5 separate regions of the Homo sapiens genome follow, and regions 1, 3, 4 and 5 are each linked to region 2. The links are contacts of gene promoters, found by promoter capture Hi-C in blood cells and fetal thymus (Javierre and others, 2016). All regions are on one chromosome and are shown on one strand. Each heading gives the region's core, a stretch centred on a gene start or on the middle of the fragment in contact. The rest is flanking DNA. Distances are from core to core; before and after follow the strand shown. Region 1 overlaps ALDH9A1 (aldehyde dehydrogenase 9 family member A1). Region 2 holds the start of COP1 (COP1 E3 ubiquitin ligase). Region 3 holds the start of LOC127814295 (a long non-coding RNA gene). Region 4 holds the start of ALDH9A1 (aldehyde dehydrogenase 9 family member A1). Region 5 has its middle 73 kb from the start of PTGS2.

The links. The method cuts DNA at HindIII sites, captures the fragments that hold promoters and counts their contacts. A CHiCAGO score of 5 or more calls a contact.
Region 1: a contact is called between a fragment that was not itself captured here and the fragment with the promoter of COP1 in region 2, in 1 of 17 cell types (non-activated CD4 T cells). The highest score is 6.0, in non-activated CD4 T cells.
Region 3: a contact is called between a fragment that was not itself captured here and the fragment with the promoter of COP1 in region 2, in 2 of 17 cell types (non-activated CD4 T cells and naive CD8 T cells). The highest score is 8.9, in non-activated CD4 T cells.
Region 4: the fragment with the promoter of ALDH9A1 here is called in contact with the fragment with the promoter of COP1 in region 2 in 1 of 17 cell types (naive CD8 T cells); the score reaches 6.3 in naive CD8 T cells.
Region 5: a fragment that was not itself captured here is called in contact with the fragment with the promoter of COP1 in region 2 in 1 of 17 cell types (neutrophils); the score reaches 5.2 in neutrophils.

The regions. Positions count from the first base shown.
Region 1 is chr1:165,677,080-165,682,660 of GRCh38, reverse strand. It overlaps ALDH9A1 (aldehyde dehydrogenase 9 family member A1), which reads left to right. Exons shown (of 11, transcript NM_000696.4): 4 at 420-554; 5 at 1,978-2,174; 6 at 3,079-3,219. Among named protein-coding and RNA genes, the nearest start is that of ALDH9A1, 19 kb to the left of the region's middle. The HindIII fragment of the contact is 2,296 bases long and covers 995-3,290 here.
Region 2 is chr1:176,204,518-176,210,000 of GRCh38, reverse strand. It overlaps COP1 (COP1 E3 ubiquitin ligase), which reads left to right and starts at 2,715. Exons shown (of 20, transcript NM_022457.7): 1 at 2,715-3,429. The coding sequence starts at 3,023. COP1-DT (COP1 divergent transcript) reads right to left here and starts at 2,336. Exons shown (of 5, transcript NR_185981.1): 1 at 2,130-2,336. RefSeq lists an enhancer at 2,108-2,177 and silencers at 2,678-2,887, 2,918-3,277. The HindIII fragment of the contact is 7,879 bases long and covers 1-3,857 here.
Region 3 is chr1:163,318,910-163,323,806 of GRCh38, reverse strand. LOC127814295 (a long non-coding RNA gene) reads left to right here and starts at 2,072. Exons shown (of 5, transcript NR_182654.1): 1 at 2,072-2,185; 2 at 4,516-4,625. It overlaps NUF2 (NUF2 component of NDC80 kinetochore complex), which reads right to left and starts at 1,853. Exons shown (of 14, transcript NM_145697.3): 1 at 1,595-1,853. It also overlaps a transcript of RGS5 not described here. RefSeq lists enhancers at 1,634-1,863, 1,904-2,113. The HindIII fragment of the contact is 6,415 bases long and covers 45-4,897 here.
Region 4 is chr1:165,696,516-165,701,311 of GRCh38, reverse strand. ALDH9A1 (aldehyde dehydrogenase 9 family member A1) reads left to right here and starts at 2,750. Exons shown (of 11, transcript NM_000696.4): 1 at 2,750-2,934. The coding sequence starts at 2,754. It also overlaps the pseudogene CA14P1. RefSeq lists enhancers at 2,315-2,494, 2,359-2,941, 2,785-3,014 and a silencer at 2,565-2,754. The HindIII fragment of the contact is 1,150 bases long and covers 1,769-2,918 here.
Region 5 is chr1:186,604,556-186,609,649 of GRCh38, reverse strand. No RefSeq gene overlaps it. Among named protein-coding and RNA genes, the nearest start is that of PTGS2, 73 kb to the left of the region's middle. The HindIII fragment of the contact is 1,426 bases long and covers 2,926-4,351 here.

The DNA of each region.
Region 1 (5,581 bases), core at 893-3,392, about 11 Mb after region 2:
GCAAACTTTTTTTTGACAGTGTATAAAGTTTTCAACAATTGATATTGGAAGGTTGGTAGGGCCTAGGAAGGTTGCAAGGAACTTACATGCTTCCCCTGCTGTTGAGTGTTCCTCTCATTTCCATTTTGTTTCATCTAAGCTATCTAATAGAGGCTCAGTAAATTCTTAGAGAGTTGTAAAATCAAGTTAGATGAACATGTGTTTGAAGGATAGGCAGGGTTCTCTATGTGGAGAGAATACGTGGAAGCCAGTGGAAGACTGCCTGGAACAAATAGAAGAATGGAGACAGGGTGAGCCTGGTGTATTGGGAGAAGTGGGGAGGCTGCGTTGACTGGAGTACAAGTCAGACTGGTACAGATGTTGGTGAAATCTTGGGGAGCACAGACCTGCATCCTCCTTTACTCCTGTTTTCCCCATAGGTGAACACATCCAGCTCCCAGGTGGATCGTTTGGTTATACCAGAAGAGAACCACTTGGGGTATGTGTGGGAATAGGAGCATGGAACTACCCCTTTCAGATTGCCTCTTGGAAGTCGGCTCCAGCATTAGCCTGTGGTAAGAATGAATTATCCCTCCATTTGAGAGCCATTCGTTCATTCTCTCGTTCGTTCTCTCCCCATTCTCTACCTTTCACCTCTCTATAAACACACACTTTAAATCGGAAGGGGCCTGCTCTGGGATATTCAAAGCCTCAGAGGACATGGCTCGTTCCTGCCCTGTCTTGCCCCTCAAGGAGCTTATAGTTAAGGTTGTACACAATCATGTCTAGATATTCTCAGGTTTTATTTATTTAATTTTGTATATGAAAAGAAATTTAATTTTTTCTTATTAAATTGAATTAGATTTGTGCTACTTATAAGTTCTCTTCCTTTCTGGACAAGAATTTTAAGGTAGGAGTTAGCACTTAGGAGTTTGACTTCATTTACGAAGCAGAAGATAAACTCCTTTCTTCATTTGGGTCTTAAGAGAAATGATAAGCAAGGCTTTGATAAGCTTCTTATCAAAGAGGAGCTTTGGCTGATTGACATAAAATAGTTTTCTTACAGTATTTAAAGAGAAGAATCTTTGAGGAAAGAAGACTAATTTTATCTTAGAAAAAATTGTAATGTTAGAAAGCATTACTGTTAGGACATTATATTGAAATGCAGCTTTTGTCCTGTTGCCATTGCATGTTCTTGTTTTAGCCTATTTCTCTTTGAGATACAGCTGTGAAAGAGGAAAAATAGTCACTAGCTTTAATAGTCACCAGAATTAAGTCACTAGCTTTGGGGACTCTCATCAAGTGAACCATTCTGGTCTTCAATGTCAACTTTTATAAAATGGAGCTAATGATACCTACTTCATACTGCTGTTGAAAGTGTTAAATGAGATAATATATGTGAAAAGGCCTAGATATGCAAATGTGAGACTGGGCAACTGTAGGGTTTGGGATCTGTTTAATGAGAGAAACCAAGATGAAAAGGACAAGAGTTGTTTACTTATTGATATGGTTTGGCTGTGTCCCCACCCAAATCTCAACTTGAATTGTATCACCCAGAATTCCCATGTGTTGTGGGAGGGACCCAGGGGGAGGTAATTGAATCATGGGGGCTGGTCTTTCTCATGCTATTCTCCTGATAGTGAATAAGTCTCATGAGATCTGATGGGTTTATCAGGGGTTTCCGCTTTTGCTGCTGCTTCATTTTTCTCCTGCCGCCAATGTAAGAAGTGACTTTCACCTCCCGCCATGATTCTGAGGCCTCCCTAGCCATGTGGAACTGTAAATCCAATTAAGCCTCTTTCTGTTCCCAGTTTCGGGTATGTCTTTATCAGCAGCATGAAAACAAACTAATATGGTTATTAATAACATTTTTGATGTAGGATTTGGTTGGGGAAGAGGAAACAATTGGAATCATTTTTGAATTGTCCTCTAGTCCTGTTTTCAGGGGATCACTGGTCTTAGAAAGTCTTTTTATGTTTGTGTCTTGGGTTTATGCAGGTAATGCCATGGTCTTTAAACCTTCTCCCTTTACACCTGTTTCTGCATTGCTACTGGCTGAAATCTACAGTGAGGCTGGTGTACCTCCTGGGCTCTTCAATGTGGTGCAGGGAGGGGCTGCCACAGGCCAGTTTCTGTGTCAGCATCCCGATGTGGCCAAAGTCTCCTTCACTGGAAGTGTGCCCACTGGCATGAAGGTGAGGACAAAACCAGTATTGGTCAACACACATGGCATTTGGATGTGGCAAATCCGGTCCTACCCAGAGTATATTTTGGAGGCTTCTCTTTTGATTTTACCTAGCCTGAATTGGGAATGGGAAGGAGATTTTATTAGGCAGAGGTGTGAAATTTCCTGTAAAAGTATGAAGGGGGAAAGGGAGTACACATGGGGTGATTTGTGTTAGGCCAGGTAGGGGTGGAAATTAACAGCCCCAGCCTAAGGAGAGGATGTGTCTTAGTGGACAGGGGCCTGGGCTGCCACTTGTATTGTTTAGTGACTTAATTTCTTGTATAGAAGAAAGGATTTTTACTCAGGCTATTTCAGATCCATTATTTTGACATTAATTTGTGTTCTGAACTCTGTCAGCCTTAAACACAGTAACAATAACACAAAAGAATTTCTGGCTATGACAATCCTGTGAATTGACAATATTTTTTATTTTTATTTTTTTGAGACAGGGTCTCACCCTGTTGCCCAGGCTGGATTATAGTGGTGTAGTCACAGCTTACTGCAGCCTTCAACTCCTGGGCTCAGGCAGTCCTCCTGCTTCAGCCTCCTAAGAAGCTGAGACTACAGTCATGTGCCACTGTGCCTGGCTAAGTTTCTTATTTTTCTGTAGAGATAGGGTCTTGCTATGTTGCCCAGGCTGGGACAATATTTTTTAAATGAACTCCCTCTTCTAATGTCAGTGCAACTCTGTGGATTCTCTTCAGTTTTCTGGAATAGAATATTTTAATAGCCAAAAGGCAAAGGATATTGACAAGAATAAGGCTACAGGTCACAAACAGTTCAAGATGATTTTGTAGGTTCAGGGCCTAGTTGACTTAGCATGCAATATAATTTGTGTTAAAGTTCTGAATACCTTGTCCTTGTTCTGCAAGATCATGGAGATGTCAGCTAAAGGAATCAAACCTGTTACCTTGGAACTTGGAGGCAAATCTCCACTCATCATCTTCTCAGACTGTGATATGAACAATGCTGTAAAGGGGGCGCTGATGGCCAACTTCCTCACACAAGGCCAGGTATGTACCTGTCCCTGGAAGAGGTGTAAAAGGAATCTCTACCCCCTCATCCAACAGTGTGTTTTAAAGCTTTTTGTTTTACAATACTTTCAGACTTACAGAAAAGTTGCACAAATAGTACAAAGAATTCCCATGTACCTTTGAACCAGATTTCTCAAATATTAACATTTTAACAGATTCACTTTATCATCTTCTTTATCTGCCTGTACATACGTAGGCATATTAAGTTTTTCTGAACCTTGAGAGTAAATTGTAGACATAAGGCCCCTAACCTCTAAATATAAAGTTCCTAAAAACAAGTGCATTCTTTTACATAAGCACGGTACACTTAGTAAAATTAAAAAATTAACATTGATATAGTACTGTTACTGAATCTATAGCCCTTACTCAATCTATAGCCCTTATTCAAATTTTGCCACTTGTTTGACTAATGTCCTCATAGTAAAATAGAACAAAAATGGTTTTTTTTCCGGTCTAGGATCCAGTCAAGGATGATGCATTGCCTTTAGTTGTCTTGTCTTTAATCTCCTTTAGCTGAGAACAGTTCTTCAGTTATTCTTGTCTTTCAGGACGTTGACATTTTGGGAGAACAGGCCATTCATTTTGTAGAATGTTCCTTAGTTTGGGTCTGTCTGATGTTTTCTGTTAGATTCATATTATGAATTTTTGGCAAAAATACCACAAACATGATGTCATATCCTACTCAGTGGTGATTTAACTTTGATCACTTGCTTTAAGGTAAGTCCTCACTGTAAAGTTACTGTTTTTTACTTTGTGGTTAATAAGATCTTGTAGGAGGTATTTTGAGACTATCCTGTTCCTCATCAAACTTTCATGCAGTAAATACTTCTATCACCACTGACGATTCTTGCTGAAAACAATTTTTATTATGGGGTTGCAAATGGTGATTTTCCAATTCCATCATTTCTTCTATATTTGTTCACCTTCTACTGTAAGAAAGAACTTGCCCTTCACCCCTGTTTGTTTTCCATTCATTTATTTATATCAGTATGGACCCATGGATTCTTATTTCATTCTATGTGTTATAATCCAATACTATCATTATTTATTTATTTTTTATTTTTATTTATTTACTTACTTATTTTTTGAGACGGAGTCTAGCTCTGTCCCCCAGACGGTAGTGCAGTGGCACGATCTCGGCTCACTGCATCCTCTGCCTCCCAGGTTTAAGCGATTCCCCCGCCTCAGCCTCCTGAGTAGCTGGGATTACAGGTGCCCGCCACCATGCCCAGCTAATTTTTGTATTTTTAGTAGAGACAGAGTTTCACTGTGTTGGCCAGGCTGGTCTCAAACTCCTGACTTCACAATCCACCCACGTTGGCCTCCCAAAGTGCTGGGATTACAAGTGTGAGCCACTGTACCCGGCCTTTATTTTATTTTTTTATTGAGACGGAGTCTCACTCTGTCACCCAGGCTGGAGTGCAGTGGCACGATCTCAGCTCACTGCAACCTCCACCACCTGGGTTCGGGTTCAAGTGATTCTCCTGTTTCAGCCTCCCAAATAGCTGGGACTACAGGTGTGTGCCACCACGGCTGGCTAATTTTTTTTTTTTTTTTTTTTTTGAGACAGAGTCTTGCTCTGTCGCCCAGGCTGGAGTACAGTGGTGCGATCTCGGCTCACTGCAAGCTCTGTCTCCTGGGTTCATGCCATTCTTCTGCCTCAGCCTCCCAAGTAGCTGAGACTACAGGCACCCGCCACCACGCCTGGCTAATTTTTTGTGTTTTTAGTAGAGATGAGGTTTTACCATGTTAGCCAGGATGGTCTGGATCTCCTGACCTCATGATACACCTGCCTTGGCCTCCCAAAGTGCTGGGATTACAGGCATGAGCCATTGTACCCAGCCTCATTATTTATTTTGATGCTAAAATAATTGCAGATGGCTGGTGGGAATCCCTTTCCGTGACCTTTTGATATGCCCTCATTATTCTTTGAATACTTCATTACTTTCTGGCATAGCAAAGTGTTCCAGACTCATACTTCCCCTGGCTGTGCTCTGGAACCAGCCATTTCTCTGAAGGAGGCCTGGTTCCATTATTGTTTATCTGTTTATTATTAATTTTTGAGACAGGGTCCTGCTCTGTTGCCCAGGCCGGAGTGCAGTGGTGCTTTCTTGGCTCACTGCAATCTCGGCCCCTCCAAGGTCAAACAATCCTCCCACCTCAGTCTCCAGTGTAGCACACCACCACATTCAGCTAATTTTTGTATTTTTTGTAGAGACGGGGTTTCACTGTGTTGGCCAGGCTGGTCTTGAACTCCTGGGCTCAAGTGATCCAAATGCCTCGGCCTCCCAAAGTGCTGGGATTGCAGGCATGTGCCACCGTGCCCGGCCTGTTTTTTATT
Region 2 (5,483 bases), core at 1,466-3,965:
CATTCAAAACATTCAAAACTAAACCATCTACTGGACACCTCCAATCTTGTCACTACGTTATTGTTACCCAGAAGTCATGTTTGGAGTCATTTCTGTTTGTGTTTCATCATTTTTACTTAATCAACATATTGACCATTGTGTCAAGCACTGATATAGACAGTGATGAATATGACAGATATGGGTCATACTCTCAAGGATGGTAAAGACAGTTTTACAGAGAGTAATTAAACTTTATACCATCAGTTCCTTAGTGTTTTTCTCAGAATATTCCCTTTCTTTGTCACCATCCTAATCTAGAATCTTATCATTTACGCTCGAACTGCTTTAATTTTTCCTAGTCTTTGTTCCTAATTTCCCACCTCTTCTGAAAGATTAATCTCCTAAAAAATTAATCTTTAAAACATTATAAATGTTTTTACCCTACTTAATGCCTAATTTCCGTGAAAGCTGTCGTAATCAAAATGGAATTATATGGGCTCGGTGGTACACACCTACAGTTCCAGCTACTTGGGAGGCTGAGGCAGCAGGATTGCTTGAGCCCAGGAATTTGGGGGCTGTACTGTGCTATAGACTTGCCTGTGAACAGTCACTGCATCCCAGCCCCATCTCTTAAACAAAAGGGGGTGGGGGGCCCCATCTCTTAAACAAAAGGGGGTGGGGGGCCCCATCTCTTAAACAAAAGGGGGTGGGGGGGCCCCATCTCTTAAACAAAAGGGGGTGGGGGGCCCCATCTCTTAAACAAAAGGGGGTGGGGGGCCCCATCTCTTAAACAAAAGGGGGTGGGAGGTAGTCACTAATATATTTTTTAAAACACTGAAAAATAGATTCAGAGGTCATGAAGAGAAGGGGTCTCATGCTTGCACACCTGATGACAAAAACTATCACAAAAACCTGCAAAAGCCACAATCTTTTTTTTTTTTTTGAGATGGAGTCTTGCTCTGTTGCCCAGGCTGGAGCACAGTGGCACGACCTTGGCTCACTCCAACCTCCGCTTTCTGGGTTCAAGCGATTCTCCTGCCTCACACTCTCGAGTAGTTGGGATTACAGGTGCATGCCACCACACCCGGTTAATTTTTGTATTTTTAGTAGGGACAGGGTTTCGTCATGTTGGCCAGGCTGGTCTCGAACTCCTGACCTCAGGTGATCCACTCGCCTTGGCCTCCCAAAGTGTTGGAATTATGGGCCTCAGCCACCGCACCTGGCCAAAAGCCACAATCTTACACAAAAAATACTTCCGCAAAAACATCTGCCCAGCAACTTCCTGTCCAGTTTCCGACTGGTGTCACCTTGTTATTGATCTTCGTAGCCAAGGATAACGGTTTAAAAACAATTATGTAATTCTCATTTTTTTTTAAATTTTAAAAACCTTTGCCTTCCTTTACCTCCTTGAATACGCACGTAGTTTACTAAGTCATGAGTATTTTCACACTTTATTCCCAAATAAATATATAAGAATCATAGAATGATAGAATTGAAAAGGATAAAATCACACAGTTGTTTCTAACTCCCACCCCTTAGAATGCGGCAAATGAAAAAAATTTTTTTTTTTGAGACAGGGTCTCTGTCTCACAGGCTGGAGTGTAGGGATCTCCGCTCCCTACAGCCTCAACCTCCCCAGCTCAAGCAATCCTCCCATGTCAGCCTCCCGAGTAGCTGGGACTACAGGCCTGCTGCCACCATGCCCAGCTAATTTTTTGTACTTTTTGTAGAGACGGGGTTTCGCTATCTTGCCCAGGCTGGTCTCTAACCTCAGGTTCAGCCTGATCCTCACCTCCAGGCTCAGGTGATCCGACCCCCTAGGCCTCCCAAGGTGCTGCGATGACAGGCATGAGCCACCGCGCCCGCCTATAATCAATTTTCAATATTCTAAAAAAGCCTACCAGAAATTGTATATTTTCTGGTGGTATTAAATGCTAGGTTTCCTTGTTTTGTGCTAGAATTATATCAGATCCACAATAAACCTAGGTTCCGACTGAGCTGGGTCTGATTGAGCAAAATCTGTTTTCCCATTATTGTTATGTTCAATTTGGCAAACAGCTTTTCAAAATATAGGAGTGAAGTCGTGGTCGAACTAATAAAATTGGTAACACTTGCTACAATGTTTGCAATTCGCAGAAAACTTCACTGACTTCATCTTAACTTATTCCTCACAAAGCTGTGGAATCACCATCAGTAGAGCAGGAGTCGTTGGCTCAATGCAGTGCTGTCTGCAACCGCTCGGAGCTTCTAGGTTCTTTCCGTGGGTCTCCAGCTTATGAGCACCTACATTCCGCGATTCGGAAGCACCTGCCTACCCCTCAGAAGAGAGAGACAGCTCCTTCTTCCCGTTCCGGAATGTGGTGCGTTCGCACGCATGCGTGACACGGCTACTCCGCGCTTGCGCCGATATTCTCCGCTTGGGGCGGATACCCTGGGTGACCCGTGAGCGTCCGCGCCCGGCGCGCGCCTGCGCAGTCGCTTTTCGAGAGTTTCCGCCCGCTACGTTCCCGTCTTTCAAACCACCCCACCACCTATACCATTCATTCCAGTCTCCTCAATTCTTTCACTGTATTAAGACGGCCTGCCCTCTGGCACGTTTTCTGGAACGAAAGCGGCTTGGGACAGACAGACTCCCTTCGCCAGGGAGCCCCGACCCCGAGGGCGCGCCCTGAGCGTCTGAGCGCAGCCCCGCTGCGTCCCCAGTTGTATCCCCCGCCACGCCCGCCTCTTCCGCCGCTCGCGCGCGCGCGCACGGCCGGCCACGGCGCGCCGGGGTTGGCTGCTACAGGGACCGCGGTGGCGGCGGCGGCCTCGACAGCGGTAGTGCCTTCTACTCCGCTTTTTTAGTTTCCTCCGCCCCCTCCCGTGGGACGCTGTTGTGTGGCTGCCTTAAAAAAAAACGCAACTTTATTGTTCCTCAGCCCCACCTCCGGCTCGGCGGGCGTCCTCAGGATGCACTGAGGCTGAGGGGAGGGGAGGCGGCGGAGGGTCGAGGTCGCGGTCCCTCTCCTCCGAGCGCCCGGCTGGAGGGGAGGGAGTCACGATGTCTGGTAGCCGCCAGGCCGGGTCGGGCTCCGCTGGGACAAGCCCCGGGTCCTCGGCGGCCTCCTCGGTGACTTCCGCCTCCTCGTCTTTATCCTCTTCCCCGTCGCCGCCTTCCGTGGCGGTTTCGGCGGCAGCGCTGGTGTCCGGCGGGGTGGCCCAGGCCGCCGGCTCGGGCGGCCTCGGGGGCCCGGTGCGGCCTGTGTTGGTGGCGCCCGCCGTATCGGGTAGCGGCGGCGGGGCGGTGTCCACGGGCCTGTCCCGGCACAGCTGCGCGGCCAGGCCCAGCGCCGGCGTAGGAGGCAGCAGCTCCAGCCTAGGCAGCGGCAGCAGGAAGCGACCTCTCCTCGCCCCCCTCTGCAACGGGCTCATCAACTCCTACGAGGACAAAAGCAACGACTTCGTATGGTGGGTTTGAAGAGCACTCCCTCCTTGTCCCTAAATTATGAGTTTCTGCCGCTTAGGCTTGGGGGCGGGGGGTCTGGTGTGGGGGTGGCTTGTTGGAGAGCTTGGGATACTGGTGCTGTGGTGGTGTCTGCAGAGGGAATCGAGCGTTTGCAGGCATTCGAGCTCCTGGTTGGTGGGGTGAAGGAATGTTGGAGTAGCGAGGCAGGGTGGGGATAATAAAGAGGTAGGTAAGTGTTGCTGAGGAGGAAGTGAAGGGAGTTTAACGAATGACGAGGGAAGAGGTGGAAGGTCAAATAAATGGTTTTGGATAACAAAGTTGGCAGAGAGGTTGAGTCTTAAAATTTTTGCCTCTCTGATGAATTGAACACTCAGTCAATCAGGAGTCCTTGTTGAGATGAATGAAATTTGCAAATGGAGAGGACTAAGCTTCCTCGGATGCAGAGGGGTGGAGTTGGTCAAAATTTATTTGAAGTATGGTAGATGATGCTGTAAACATAAGCATGGATGTCTTATAAAGACATGCTTTTTATAATAATGTAAGTACCTATCGTATGTATGTGTAAATATCTTCTTCCATTTCAAAGGATGGGCCACTTAGGAATCGGCTGTTGAGACGACTGTAGTCAAAGTCTGTTAACAGATTTTTCACTTCTCCACCAAGTGTCTTGAAAAGAGAGAACCACGTTTGTTAAATAACATCCCTGTGTCAGATGTAACTGTACTATACTGGATAACAGAGTATACTGGAACTTCTGACTTGAGAAATGCTAGGTATAGACATTTTGTCGTCATAGTTGGCATCTTGAATGATACAGAGTAACATTTAGTCATGACATTTGGGATAGAGAGGTTAGTCATATGAAGTGAAAGGTGGTGTTGATTGTCTTGCTTGAGAGTGTTTTGGAATTTTTATTGGATTTTAGATATTGGTAGGATTATGAGAAGTAATTGCTGTTAGCTAGCTGCTTAAGAAGTGGTAGTGTTTCGTACTTTCCTTTTTGAGGAAATTGTTGATCAAATATTAGGCATGTAGGAAGTTGGCTGCTTGCACAGTCATTATGAGGGAAGTTGATTCAGATCAGGGTTGAAGATGGTCTGAGTTGGTGTTATTAAATAAGATAGAGCTAGAAGTTGGAACTGTTAGGAAAGTTATTGATTAGACTTACGGTTTCTAGTTCCTGCAGAAAAATGATGTCTTTATTCACCTTTCTGCTTTTTTGTACGTTATTCTTTATCAGAATTAATCTGTTTTTCATTGAACATTTGGGCTGTAATATGATTGTTATTTATAAATAAGCAGTTTATGGTTGGGGCTGAGAAGTGTTTGCACTTCTACACAGTCGATAGTGCGAGTAGCTAATAAGCTAATAAAACAAAGTGGGGTGTGCATAATTTAGTTGTCTTTTTAGCCACTGTTTGCATTTTAATTTTTAGTATACTTAACGAACACAAACATGTTAGCCTCCGTGTAAGTACACTAAAATAAAGTAAAAGATGTGAGGAATAAGGAATCGATCATTGTCATTCAAGAGATACTTGTATGACATTCACTGTCGGCCAGGCACCATATGAAGTTCAGTGCACTGCAGGCTATGCTATAGGGAATTGGGAACTCTTTTTTTAAAAGAGTAAAAATTTGTATTTGAGACGGAGTCTTGCTCTGTCACTCAGGCTGGAGTGCAGTGGCACCGTCTTGGCTCACTGCCACCCCCGCCTCCCGGGTTCAAGCAATTCTCCAGCCTCAGCCTCCCGAGTAGTAGCTGGGATTACAGGCACCTGCCACCACACCTGCCTAATTTTTTGTATTTTTAATGGAGACGGGGTTTCACCATGTTGGCCAGGCAGGTCTTGAACTCCTGACCTCAGGTGATCTGCTCGCCTCGGCCTCCCAAGGTGCTGGGAGGGATTACAGGTGTGAGCCACCGTGGTCCTGAGTATTTCACTTTCTAAGAATCTCATTAGTTAATTATTTCTTTTTCTGGTGAGGTTTAATATTCAGAAGAATTAATTAATGAGAATCTGATTTAAAACTCAAGCCAGGTTTGATTTTGTCC
Region 3 (4,897 bases), core at 2,003-4,502, about 13 Mb after region 2:
CAAGGATTTGTACTTTCTACTATTAAATTTCATGATTGCAAGCTTTCCTTTTAGAGCTAGGACGTTTTGTCTATTTTTTTTTCTTTGAGGCAGGGTCTCAGTTTGTCATCCAGGCTGGAGTGCAGTGTGGCACAATCACAGCTCACTGCAGCCTCGACCTCCCAGGCTCAAGCTATCCTCCTGCCTCAGCCTCTCAAGTAGCCAGGACGACAGCAGGCACACACTACCACGCCCTGTTAATTTGTGTGTGTGTGGAGATAGGGTCTCACTATGTTGCCCAGTCTGGTCTTGAACTTCTGGGCTCAAGTGATCCTCCCACCTCAACCTCCCAAAGTGCTGGGATACAAGCATAAGCCACCTTGCCAGGCCACAGAGCTGGGATCTTTTGGAATCCAGATTCTGATGCATCACATATTAGATGTTCCCTTCAGCATAAATATGCATTCTACATTTTCATCTAAGTCACAGCCTTAAAAACTGTTCATAAAAGGACTGGACCAAAGAAAGACTTCAGAAAAAGTCACTTTTCCAAAAAAGCTGCATCTGAATTAGAGAGTATTGCAATAGAAAGCGTAGGTGTAAAGTATCTTCATAATTATTATCACTTGTTCCTCTCTTCTCTAATGTTTGGCACTCTGCTATCAGATTAATCCTTATAAAAACACTTAACGCATCATATAATATTTGTATGAAAATACTTCAATTACTCACCTTACCCACCACATCAAATTCAAATTTTTCTGCTAGGCTTCTAAACCCTTTAATAATTGAATGAAATTTCTGCTCCAAGTTAGTCTCCTAACTTTCCCAAACTTCCAGTATTTCCTTTTGGAACCTCCTCCAATATCCAAATTCTATCATTCTTTCGAAGTACAATTTCAGTTACAATTTATTCATTAACGAGAGATGAAGACACTTTCCAACTACATAGTTTGAGCTCCTAGGTGGGATAAAGTATATAAATGACTTAATATATATGCAGTAATACTCTGTCTAACGAGTAGCAAAGATTAACCTATAATTACTCATCTGGTTTCTCATTTATTTGCAGCACCACGATGCTGAGCAGAGTGAGTAGGTACTAAAAGTACTCTGTTAAATTTTACACACTTCGTTTTGTTAAAATAAACTATTTGTGGACATCACAGTTCCACGAGGCAGAGATTAAACAAAAATAAACAGAAATGGCTCCCAACTTCAATGAATTAAGTAAAACGTTCCTTGAACTTTTAAAAGGAACAATGATGGCGTTATGCATGCGTAGTGCTATATATGCGCTGCTCTTTTCCTTTGAATTTTGGATTAGGTGTGATATTTTTACCTTTTCATTCATGGTTTTGGATTTGGTTAAGAAACGTTTGGCAACGGAGATGTGTAAAAAGCTGACAAGCATCTGCAGCCAAATAAACCACATTACCACCGCCTTTCCAAAAATCACACATAAATGTATGCCTAACTTGAACAATTTCAGCTCAAGCTCGTCTTCTTCGGTCTATGCTGCACCAGAAAACACCCGTTAGTTTAGTAGGAACTGAGCTCTGGTTGTTTCTGGGACTAACATCAAATAAAAAGTAACGACGGGCCCGCCCCTCACCTCCCAGGCTCTGGTTTCTTCCGCCTCCTCCCACCGCTGAGCACGACGAAAACACCGCCAGGCCCAGCGTCCCGGCACCTGCCCGCGCCTTGGGATGGAGAAGGCGTCTGTCTGCAGGCTTCCTTCCTCCGTCCTCTCGCGCTCACCTACAGTGCCGGCCGCCGACAGGAAGACGGCGAGTTCGGGGAGCAGCTACAAGCAAAGTCAAAAATCAGCAAACGTCAACCGTCATCACTTTTCAAACTTGCCGCCTCCTACTGGAAGTCCCGCCCCATTCCGCCAAGCCCACGTCCAACCGCGACGGATGCCGGTTGGGCTCAAGAGACGCCAGGCAGGTGGGACTGGAGTTGTCATGGAAGGGGCAGGGCGCAGGGCGGAACCATTGCTCGCGGAGCTGGCGTCGAGTCGGAACCTCGGACTGCAGGAAGTGGGAGCACCGCGGTTTCGGGGAAGAGACCGGGGTTGAGCGTCTAGCCCATCTCTGCGTGACTTCCGCCAGCGTTTAGAGCGTTTTCGGGGTCCGAGTTGAAGAGCAAAACCAAGTGAAGGAAACTTCACTAAGTTCAGGGTGACAAGGGAGGAAGTACAGAGGTAATTTATAGAATTCCAGAGTAATAATAACTTGTTGAACATTGATTATGTGCCGGGTTTTGTTAGATGCTTATAAGCATCATCTCATTTAGACTTCATTAAAGGGGAGAAAAGGGATAGTGGAGAGATACTATCATCCCCTCAGGTGAGGGCTCTGAATCAGAGAATGCAGTTCTCTGCGCACAGTAGTTCACAAGTAGCATAGCTGGGATATGAACACACATCCTCTGACTCTGTGCTCATAAGCACGACTTCAAGAGGTGGAAGGAACATAACAGTTCATCTGGTCAAATCCTCTCGCTTTCACCGATATGAAAACTGGACTCAGAGAGAAGTGATTTGTTAGAAGTTATACAGTAAGTGGGACTGTAAAGTAGAAACCAGGTCTCCTGATTTTAGCTTCTCCCTCTTCGATCAGTGCTTTTCACCTCTGAACTGTTCCCCAAATTTGCACATTCCTGAGTGAGTTGCATTCTTCAGATAAGGGGCCCTGAAATCTGTATTTTTTTACATGGTATTTTGTTTGTTTGTTTTGGCAAGAGTGGAAACACTGCATTTAACACAAGTTAGGAAGCCATGGCAGGCCTGGTTGTCAGGGGAGAAAGCCATTAAGTTTTATTGAGGTTTGGGACAGGAGAAGACGTAATAGGACTTGTATCTGGTCACAGAGTAGAGCATCATCTGGTGACAGTCGTGTGTTGGATGGGGAACCTGAACTGAATTATGTGAAAAAAGTGCTAGAAAGGTTGTATTGAATGTAGACACAAATTCCGCTGCTTTGTCCTGTCCTGAAGAACTAAACCTATTGATAGTGAAGTCTATACCAATTCTAAATAAAAATACATTTCATATCATTAGTTCAGGGCTTTTGTCTTTCCTTTCAATGTCTATTTACTGATGTAAGTCTCAAAGTCGGAATCTAGTAAGACCCAAAAGGACATTAAGAAAATAGATTTTAAAAAAATATTAGAGTCAGTGAGGAAAGCAGAAAAAAGAGACCTGTCTCATTGACACTTGCCAAATCAAATTGATTACTGATACATGCATAATTTCCACCAAATTATATGTCCTTAGAGGCAGGGAAGGGAACCATAGCGTAGTGACTGAGAGCACATCTCTACGGTCAAAGGGAGTTGGATTGAAATCCCTGATCACACCATTTACTACCTAGGTGGACTTAGGCGAGCTATTTAACCTAACTGAGCTCGTTTCTGCATCTTTAAAATAGGGTGACAGTTCTATCTGCTTTATACGGTATCATGAAGATTAAGTGAATTAGTTCCTGTAGAGTGCTTAATTAAGTGCCTGGCAAAATTGTGAGTACTTGAAAAGTATTAGCTGTTATTTTGACTATTATTATTTATACATGGTCCCTAGGAAAATACCTTGCAAGTGGCAAGTGCTCAACAAATGTCTAAATTGTCGTTGAGAATCTAGAAAAAAAACCAAGCGATTTATGTGAAAGCCAAGATTAGAATGGACCATGGAGAAAGAGAAAAATGAGGCAAAGGAAGAAAAGAGCAAGACAACCATTTTGTTATATCAACAATAAATATTGTTTATTTGGGGGTTAATATTACTATTGATGTGATAAATTGAGTTATATTAGAAGTAAATTATTTATTTAAAAAATGAGTGTTTATTCAAATTACCTTAATTAGAAGGTTAAATCTGACTTTTTAAAACTTTTAGTTGCCTGATACTGGTCAGTGTAAGGTAGAAGGTGGAACATCAGAATTCTCAACCTAGACATTAGTCTAAGAGTTTTGTTATCACCCATAAAAACACAGACTATTGCAGAAAACTTTAGTATTCTTTCTGATTGTAGCATCATAATTTTGTACCCTCACATGTGCTACATTTGCCCTACTATTTCATTTTCCCTGACAGCCCTCCTGCTAATACCTCCCTTCACAGCCTAGACTGCATGGTTTATCAGCATCCAAACTTCCTGTGTCTGATGCCTCTGACCCAGGTGCCTGTCAAAATCTTATCCGTGCATCTTGTCTATAAATTCTTAGCTGGAAACACTGGAGAAAATGACACAAAGTGATATATGACAGATTGTCAGTCTCCATCTTCAGCTCTTTCCCTGATTCCTGACAATCCTTTAATTTATCATCAGTAATTTCCCTGTCCTGTAACTTTCAGTGATTTCTCACAAACTTTACCCTTTCTTCATTCCTCTTCCCAACCTAAATTCCTCTCTTTAATAGAAAGTGACCAGAGTGGTCTTAAAGGTGTGTTTCAAGCACATAACACATTCGTATGCATCTGCAATTTGTTGTGTCTATTGCCTTTCTAATTTTAATTTCATGTTCCTTTTCTAGACTGCACTTTAAATTCTGGATGACAGACCTATCAGGACTGAGTGGACCTTTGAGTGACAAGATGGGGGTGTTCCAAAGAGACCATGGCAGCCTGCAGCTAGGACTTTAATGCAAGTGGTGATGCTGTGATATCTAGTGCTTTAAACAAATCTCTTTTTTTAAGTGACAGGGTTTCCAAATTGTTATTTCTACTTTAACAGATCAATAGGGACAAAAAGTTGATTCACTTGGTCTAATGTGGTAGGAATAGGTGAAATACTAAGACTGGATCCTACACTCTACTTCCCATCAGGCACCCATTCTTATGAATAGAGATTCCATAGGGGCCACACACAATCCCAGTACTTTTTTCCCAGTTAATTGAGAAAATTAAAGCCATCAT
Region 4 (4,796 bases), core at 1,501-4,000, about 11 Mb after region 2:
TCCACCAACATAAGAGTGAATTTTGATAGCAACCTTCATGGGGTCAACATCTCGACCTGGTGTAGTAAGAAGAAATTTACTTTGGACTTGCACAGAGCTGGACTCCAGCCTTAGCTCCTTTATGGGGAAGCTCTACGACCTTTCTATTAGTTTCCTCATCTGTACAATGGGGATGATAAAACCTATCTTGCATGATTGTCACTGAGATATTTGACAAAGTGCCACATACTACCTCCTAGCTCAATCTCTGTTAGTTTCCTTTTCTTTTGTAGGGTTATTATGAGCTTCATGTGAGAAAGTAAATGTGAAAGGGCTCTGTAACCTATAAAGCTCTTTCTACATGTTGGATTTTGCTAATGAAAAATAATACATTAATAATCTAATAATAAGGGTGGAAGGAGGGAGAGGATCAGGAAAAATAACTCATGGGTACTAGGCTTAATACCTGGGTAATGAAATAATCTATACAACACACCCCCATGACACAAGTTTACCTATGTAACAAATCTTTACATGTACCCCTGAACCTAAAAGTTAAAAATAATAATTTAATAATAAAAGCACAGATAGGTAAGAGGAACAGCTAGATATTTAAAAGGTAGATATTTTGGAGGAGATCTGTTTTCTTTGGGGAAGGGTCTTACTCTGTTGCCCAGGCTGGAGCAGTGGTGCCATGATCGCTCACTCCAGTCTTGAACTCCTGGCCTCAAGCAATCCTCCACCTCAGTCTCTTGAGTAGTCAGGACTACACGCTTGTGCCACCATGCTCGGCTAATTTTTAAAAATATTTTGTAGAGACAGAGTCTCACTATGTTGCCCAGGCTGGTCTTGAACTCCTGGCCTCAAGCGATCCTCCTGCCACGGTCTCCCAAAGTGTTGAGATTACAGGTGTGAGTCCTGTGCCTGGCCAGAGGTTTGTCAGTCTTATCATCTATGAATTAATTCAATAGACATCACGACCACATTTCCAAAACAAACATCAGGAATTATGATGTGACAAGTCAAAATGCATTGGTTGGGGACAGAATCTTTTAAATAGAAATTGTCCCATAAAATTTGAGACGTATAGTTTCTGTACCTAAATGACCATTCAGTGATCTTGGAAATCTATAGTGCTGCTCGTCACCAACTCCTGATATGTTTCAATTCTGTTTGCAATGGACAATAATAAAATAATATGTGAGTGTGGCCTCAGGTATTCTGAGTTTGGGCACTGCTGTTTCCATCTGAGGACCAAGACCTACACATCTCAGTAGCACTGAAAAAGTGAACAAACTGGTATAGAGTGCCAGAAAACTTGATCAGAATACATTATATATACTCTAAACCTGAAAACCACACTCCCTAATATTGCGCTGGTGAGCTGGCAGGTAAAGGAAAAAACATTGAGAAAGACAGCAGCCCCCAGAAGAGAAACAATCCTAAAAGAAATGTCCAAATTGCCAATTACTTTCTGTTTGTCAAAGTCTCTACTGGAGGTGCATGGAAGTTTGGTGAGAAGAATGAACCTTTGTGCAAGATCCCTCAGCTGACAGACCTGTGAGTGCCTCTGGGTGGCTGCTTTGTCTTACAGAAGGCATTTTGTTTCCTGACACTTTTTCCTGTGGCCTTTGCTCTTCGTATTCTGTATGTTAGGCTTCTGTTTCTATCAATATTTGTCATTAATAGCATTTACATTGCTCCTTCAGAATTTATTTATTTTGAGACAGGGTCTCGCTCTGTTGCCCAGGCCTGAGTGCAGTGGCACGATTATAGCTCACTGCAAGCTTGGACCCCCGGGGCTCAGGGGATCCTCCCACCTTAGCCGCCCAAGTACCTGGGGCCACAGGCGTGTGCCACCACACCTGGATAATTTTTTTTTTTTCTGAGTTTCACTCTTGTCACCCAGACTGGAGTGCAATGGCATAGTCTCGGCTCACTGCAACCCGTCTCCCGGGTTCAAGCGATTTTCCCACCTCAGCCTCCCAAGTAGCTGGGATTACAGGCGCCCGCCACCACACCCAGCTAATTTTTGTATTTTTAGTAGAGACGGGGTTTTACCATTTTGGTCAGGCTGGTCTCGAACTCCTGACCTCAGGTGATCTGCCCGCCTTGGCCTCCCAAAGTGCTAGGATTACAGGCGTGAGCCACCGCGCCCGGCCCAATTTTTATTATTTTTATTTTATTTTTTTATAGACACGGGATCTCTCTCTGTTGCCCGCAAACTCCTGGGCTCAAGCGATCCTCCAGCCTTGGTGAGAGCCACAGCGCCCAGTCTCTCTTTAAGAATTTAAAAAGCAGTTTCAGATCACAATATCATCTATCTCGTTCACAGTCCCCTTGCTTTTTACTGTCACCCTTTAAAAAGCATTATACAATTACAGAAACGGTGGTTTAGCAGTGAAGTAACCACCAAAGACTCTTGGCACTCCAATCCTCTGCCTTCTTCAGGCGATAGGATTAAGAATGGGATCCTAGGATGCTTACATGCAATGATGAACCCGAAAACACTTGCAAAGTGCTACGCAAATATTGATCACGAAGAAGGAAGTCCTCTTCCCGCCTGGAGACTGTGTGGGGTATGGCGGGGTGGTGGGGAGAATGTGGTGTCTTGCTCCACCCTCCTGGCGAGGGGAGGGCCTGGCCTGGACCGCAGAGGAATCGAGTGACTGCCCCTAAAATCTCCTAGAACCGATCCCGCGGCCCCGCCCCTCCCGCGGCCCCGCCCCTCCCGCGGCCCGTCAGCCTCTGCCGCGGAGCTGCGTCCGCCACTCATGTTTCTCCGAGCAGGCCTGGCCGCGCTCTCCCCGCTTCTTCGCAGTCTTCGGCCCTCTCCTGTCGCCGCCATGAGCACTGGCACCTTCGTCGTGTCGCAGCCGCTCAATTACCGCGGCGGGGCCCGCGTGGAGCCGGCGGACGCCTCCGGTACCGAGAAAGCTTTCGAGCCAGCAACCGGTAACTGCAACGAGCCGGGGAGGCTGGGGCGCCCTGGGGCCGGATGCGCGGATTTCCCGGCCAGCCCCCGTTTCCTGTGTTCTGCAGCGTTGACTTGAGCACAAGACAGTGACAGTGGAGAGTCTAAGGTTGTGTGTGTAGGCAACTAGCGATTCTGGGGCAACGCGAGTGCCTCCGGGCAGGGATGGGTAGGGAGGAAAAGCAAAGCTGATGAGTTGCGTGGTAGGATCGTGAGTTGTTTTACCCGGGCCAGAACAGAGTTCGCAAAGTACTGGTGGGGGAAGTCGTGCCTCTGTTAACTTCCTTTTTTGTTTGTTTTGTTTGTTTGTTTGTTTTTTGTTTGTTTTGAGACAGGGTCTCACTCTGTCGCCCAGGCTGGAGTGCAGGGGCACCATCTCAGAGCTCACTGCGCCCTCTACCTTACGGGCTCAAGTGCTTCTCCCGCCTCAGCCTCCCTGGTAGCTGGGATTACAGGCTCCCACCACCATGTCCGGCTAATTTTTGTATTTTTAGTAGAGACGGGTTTTCAGCATGTTACTCAGGCTGGTCTCGAACTCCTGAGCTTAGGTGATCCTCCCGCCTCAGCCTCCCAAAGTGCTGGGATTACAGCCGTGAGCCACCAAGCCCAGCCAACTGTTCCCCCTTTTAAAACCAGGACTGATGTATTATTGTCTTCAAATGTGTGCATAGGAGAGGAATTCTAAAAGAACGGGGCGGGGTTGTGGGGAAGATAATCATTTGTGCTGGGAATGAAGGAACGCTCACAGATAGTTTCTAATGACTACGAATGAGGACTTTGTCTCCACATTCTAATATTAAAATATTTCTGCACATTAATCAGAATTGGGAAAGGAAAAAACCCCACCTTTATTCAGTACTTTCTTCCCCAGCTTTATTGAAGTATAATTAACAAATAAAAATTGTATATACTTAAGGTGTAAAACGTGTTGTAATGTATGTATACCTTGCAAAATGGTTACCACGGTCAATCTAATTATCCATTGCTTCTGCATAGTTAATGGCTTTTTTTGGATAGTGAAATATTTAAGATCTATTCTTTTAGCAAATTTCAAGTATATGATGCAGTATTGGTAACCATAGTCACCATGGTCTACGTGAGCTCTCCACAATTTATTCATCTTGCTGAAATAAAACTTTTTAATCCAGTGCTTAATGTGTGCTAAGCACTGTGCTAGGCACTGGATTTACTCTGGGAACTCTGAAGGTCACAGAGATAAGGAAGAAGGGGCTTTTTGTTTTGGTTTTGTGTTGTGTTTATTTTGCTGGGTTTTATGGAATATATGTGGGGAGAAAAATGTAAATATTTTGTGTAAAATGTAGCCAGAGCAATAAAACTGATTTGCAGGGGACTGGAGAATTTAGTATTTGACCATCCACACTAAACCACAGAGCAGTGACTTGGCAGAGCCAGAAGGCATTATCACATCTCTTCTTTATATAGGAGGAAACAGCTTCTCTACCCCGACTTAATCCTGATACAAAAGAAAGAAAAATTGCTCTTTGCTTTAATTGCCTACAGTGTGTGTGATCCTCAGCCACCGCCTTTACCAGCTGGCTATTCAAGTTTGTAACAGAAATTGCAGATTTGTGAAATCTCCCTGGAAAGAGTCCCAGGAGTTCTTGTGAAGAGGATTTGCTGAGTTGGCAAACTTAAAGAATTCTTGTTGGTAGAGGCAGTACAGTCCTTGGGCTATGGGCCTAGAAAAACTGATTGTTTCATAATTTGCACCAGAATAGGGAGAGGGAATAAAGGTGGAATAAGAAAAGGAAATCTGGGAATTTTTGAGAAAAAAAAAATGTTCCTTTAGGGTTGCCTTATCCTGATATTACTGCTTATTAAC
Region 5 (5,094 bases), core at 2,389-4,888, about 10 Mb before region 2:
CAGCTTCCACCAAACTGATGATACAATCCAGCCAGCCCTAGCTGCCTTTTTTGAAATGCGCTCCTCCTGGAGATTAGCAGACTCATAAAAACAAAACAAAAGATAGGATGGGAGGCTACAAGACCAGCTGAACTAATAATTATAGGTGAACATTTTGAAATGATCTGAGAATAAGATAAGAAACAAAAGGCTTCTAAATTAATATCCTAGCAATTATAACAATTTCATGGCAACCAGCAAACTGGAATGACTTTTGGACCTGCCCCAGGGCACTTTTCCAGTATGCAACTCCTAAAACAACCATTTCCAAAAAATTGTTGCTATTTGTGCTAACAACTGGGACACTGCTAAAAGTCCTGCCTCCAAAGATTTTTTAAGGGAAGCCCCAGAATACAGGCTGCCCACCCTCTGATAATAATCTCCATGTTACCAGTGGACAGACAGACCTCCAAGGGAAGGTCCAGTAAGCTTCTGCCATTTATTCATTTGAAAAATCAAGGGGATACACAGATAAAAATTAATGAAGATTTTTTTTCCAATCTTAGTTGACACCAGAGCTACTGGTTCCAGCTTAAACACTACTTTTATAGAATAACTTCTCCCTAGTAGTAAAACAGAATTTCAGTGGTGGGGTTTTCAAATCAAGTTCAAAAGGAATTCATGTCTTATGCTACACAAACGACTCTAGACCCTTTCACTGAAAAATATTCTCTTTTGTTGTTTGACACAGCTCTAGTCAATTTATTGGGCAGAGACCTTCTGTCTAAGCTAAAAGGTCTGATATGGTTTGCCTCTAGTGGAGATGTGACTCTGGAATTTTCTGACCCACCTGAGCCAGATCTCATATGGACTTTGCGGTCTGTCCTACACATAGAGGAAGAGGACAGTCCACAAAATGCCCCAGTCTAACTGAACTACCCAATTGCTATGAGCCACATTAAATACTGACCTTGGAAGAATAAAAAGTGCAGAGCACTCAAATTCAAGTAGACCTCACTAAACCCCTTCCTCAATTACTGCAATACCCGTTAAAGCCTGAGGCCGTAAAAAGTCTTGTCCCAGTGTCAATGATAGAAGACTTAATTGCTCAAAGATTAATTATTCCATGTAGCAGCCTTTGTAACACCCCGATTTTACCTGTACAAAAACCTAATGGATAAGGATGGCAATTTGTTCAGAATCTAAGAGCCATTAACAGGATAGTTATGCTGTTTCCCAGTGGTTCCAAACCCTAACGGTCATTTGTCACAAGTTCCCCCAGATTCTAAATGGTTTACAGTTGTAAACTGTAACATGTTCAGCCTTTCTTTAACATTCCAGATGACTCTGACAGTCAATCCTGTTTGCTTTCACCTGGAATAATCAACAGTATTGGAGGGTCATGTCTCAGGGGTTCATTGAAACCCCCTTCTATTTCTCTTAAGTACTCTGTCGAGACTTGAGCATCCTCCAGTCTCCTAGAGGGTTGACTCCTTCAATACACCAATGACATCTCACTTTGTTCACTTACTAAGGAGGCATCCCAGCAGGATTCCTTCTATTTATTATAGCAGTTAGCAGAAAAGGGACTTAAGGTCTCCAGAGACAAATTACAAGTATCAATAGATGCTGTTCACTATTTAGGACATGATCTGAGTGCCGCAGGCATCCAGATCTGGTGTCTGCTAGTTAAGCTTTCCCAGGAATTTCCTAGGTTGGTAACTAAGAAGAAACTTTCCAGGTTCTTAGGTTTAATTAGATGTTGTCATCAAGGGGTCTCTAGTTTTCCCCTCTTAGGGTCTTTACTGTATGAACTCACTAAACACTTAGTCCCTGAACCCCTTTCTTGGGAAGAAAAACATGAACCAGGACGTTGTAAAATTAAAACAGGCATTATAAAAACTCCCTGCTTTGGGATTGCCCAGTTACTAAAAACATTTCACCCTATTTGTACCTGAAAGAAATAATCAGGCCTTGAGAATCCTTGCACAAGAACATGATAATAAGCTTAGCCCATTGCCTCTTGTAGTGCTTGATTAGACTATTGCCAAAGCGTCTGTGGATCTAACCTCAGGTAATAATGCTTATCTCCACATATCACACAAGGTGAAAAGTCTTCTCAACTCTAACCTTACCCAATATCTTTCTTTTCTTTTTTTTTTTTAATTTGTGGTTAAAAAATAGACATATAATTTTGTATCTTAACCATTTTAAAGTGTACATTTCAATAGTGTTAAGGGTATTCATGTTGTGAAACACATCTCAATAACTTTTGTTTTTATCTTGGTTTCCTTATATTTGTTCTTTCGACAAATATTATTGAGCAGTTAGAATATACAGGCGCTGTTCAAGCACTGAGGATAAAGCATTAAACAACTCAGAATGAGATATAAGATTAGACCTGTTTATTTCACAAATCTGTTTTTTGAGGTTAAATTGAAACAATGCATGTAAAATTTATGAAGTATATCAGTAGTTCTCAAAATTTGGTCTAAGGGCTTTTTTACACTCTTAAAAATTATTGAATACATTTTAAAATGCTTTTGCTTATGTGGGATGCACTCACACAAACTTGTGTATATATATTTACTATACTAGAAATTAAAATGAAATATTTAAAATATATTTTCTAATTCATTTAAAATAAAAATAATACATTTATTGCATGTTTGTATAAATAACATATTTTTAAAATACTATATTTTATTAAAAGCATTTACCTAAACAAAAAATGTTTAGTAAGGCTGGATGTGGTGGTTCATGCCTATAATCCCAGCACTTTGGGAGGTCAAGGTGGGAGGATTGCTTGAGGCCAGAAGTGCTAGGCTAGACCATAGTAAGGAAAGAGAAAAAGAAAAGAAAGAGGGAAAGAGAGAGGGAGGGAGGAAGGAAGGAAGGAAGGAGAGAAAAAGAGAGAGAAAGAAAAAGAAAGAAAGAAAGTAAGCTTAGTGAGAGGAGAGGCATTGTGATGCATTTTGTAAATCTCATTAATGTCTGGCTTAATAAATGACAGTTGTATTCTCAAGAGTGATGTCGTCAAAATGGGAGAATAGAAATAATCTAGCTTCAGTGTTCCCCACAGAAAACCAAAAACAACTATCCAGTACCTAGATTATCATCACCAGTAACCAAGAACTGGGCCTTTTGATGATTTTTGAGACCACAGAAAAGTGAAAAACTACAAGCAGAAAGTAAGAGAAATGAACTTCAGTTTCTTTGATATGCCTCCCCTACCTAAGTTGCCAGGCACTACATGGAAAAGTCCCCCTAGACTTAGGGTTTCACCAATGGAAAAAGTGAGATCAAGGCAGGCAAGACAGCAGGCTTCCCCACCATCTTGGGTTTCTTAGCAGGACTGCCATTTCTGCCTCAACTCAAGAAGCATCACAAGTGCCTGTAGAGAGAAATATCCTAAAGGCGGCTAGACTGAAAAAAAAAAAAAAAGAGAGAGAGAGAGAGAGAGTGGAGAAGGGATAGCAATCCCAGGGTGCAAAATGTAGGGCTGCTCTTCAGCTCAGCAAAAAGAGACACCAAACCAGAAGAGCAGTTCAGCAGCACCGGGCTCTAGGAGGCATTCTTCATGGGTCCTCAGGACACAAAACTCTACCCAGCCTCCACACACAACCAAGGAATCTCCTTTGGGACTCCTCCTGCCACACAGCCCCCCATCTGACACAGGCAGTTCTCCAAACTTTTTTGAGAGCTGTGGCAAACTTGGACTTAGGGCACCATCTAGTGCCAAAAAGGAGGCAGCAGTCCGGGGCTAAGGGAACTCAACATGCAAACCACACAGAACCTCTAAACATGCATAGCCTAGAAAGACCAAAGCAATCCAGACAGTGAAGACTGGAATCAATAGCTAAACCTTTAGTGCAAAGACAGAAATGTAAATCCGTAAGAAACAACAGCAAACAGGAAACCATGACCTCCCCAAATGGACAAAGCAAAGATCCGGTGATAGGCAATGGAGCAATGGTGTGGGCTCTCAAATCAGGAATTCAATATGGTAATTTTGAGGAAACTCCGTGAACTCCAAGATAACAGAGAAAAACAATTCAGAAATTTATCATAGAAATTTAACAAAGAGATTAGAATAATTTTTAATAAGAACAGAAATCCTAGAACTCAGAAATACTTTGGCTGAACTGAAAAATTCATTGGAAGGTCTCAGCAGCAGAATTTATCAAGTGGAAGAAAGGTTCAGTGAGCTTGAAGATAGGGTATTTAAAAACACACAGGGAAGAAAAAAGAAAAAATAATTTTTAAAAAATGAAATATGCCTACGAGGTCTAGAAAACAGCTTCAAAAGAGCAAACCTAAGGGTCATTGGCATTTAAGAGGGAATTGAGAAGGAGGCAAAAGGTAGAAAGCTTATTCAAAGAGATAATACAGTAACACTTTCCAAACCTAGAGAAAAATATAAATATGCAAGTACAGAAAAGTCAAGGATTGTCAAGGATTATAAAGGATTATAAAATAGATTCAACCCAAATAAGACTACACCAAGGCATATAATAAACAAACACTCAAAGGTCAAGGTCAAAGAGAGAATTCTAAAATCAGCAATAAAAAAGAAGCAACATCATATGAAAAAGCTCAAGTTCATTGGGCAACAGACTTCTCAGCAGAAATCATACCCAGGAAGGAGTGAGATAATATATTCAAAGTGCTTAATGAAGAAAACTGCCAAATGATAATACTGTATCTAGCAAGCTAGCCTTCAAACATGAAAAATAGATAAAGACTTTCTGAGATAAATAATAGTTGAGGATATGACTTACCACCAGACCAGTCTTACAAGAAATACTGAAGGGAGTTCTTCAGTCTGAAAGGAAGCTAACATGCAACAGGAAAACATCAGAAGATATAAAATTCACTGGTAAAAGTTAGTATAGAGACAAATTCAGAATATTCTAATACTGTAATTGTGGTGTGTTAATCACTCATATCTTTAGTATGAAGACTAACAGACAAAGCTATCAAAACAATAATAACAACAAAATTTTGTTAAGAAAGATGCAGTTATGAAAAGATGTAAACCGAGAGAATAAAAAGCCAAAATATGGGGAGGTGGAGTTAAAGTGCAAAGTTTTTAAGTTTTTCTTTGTGTTTGCT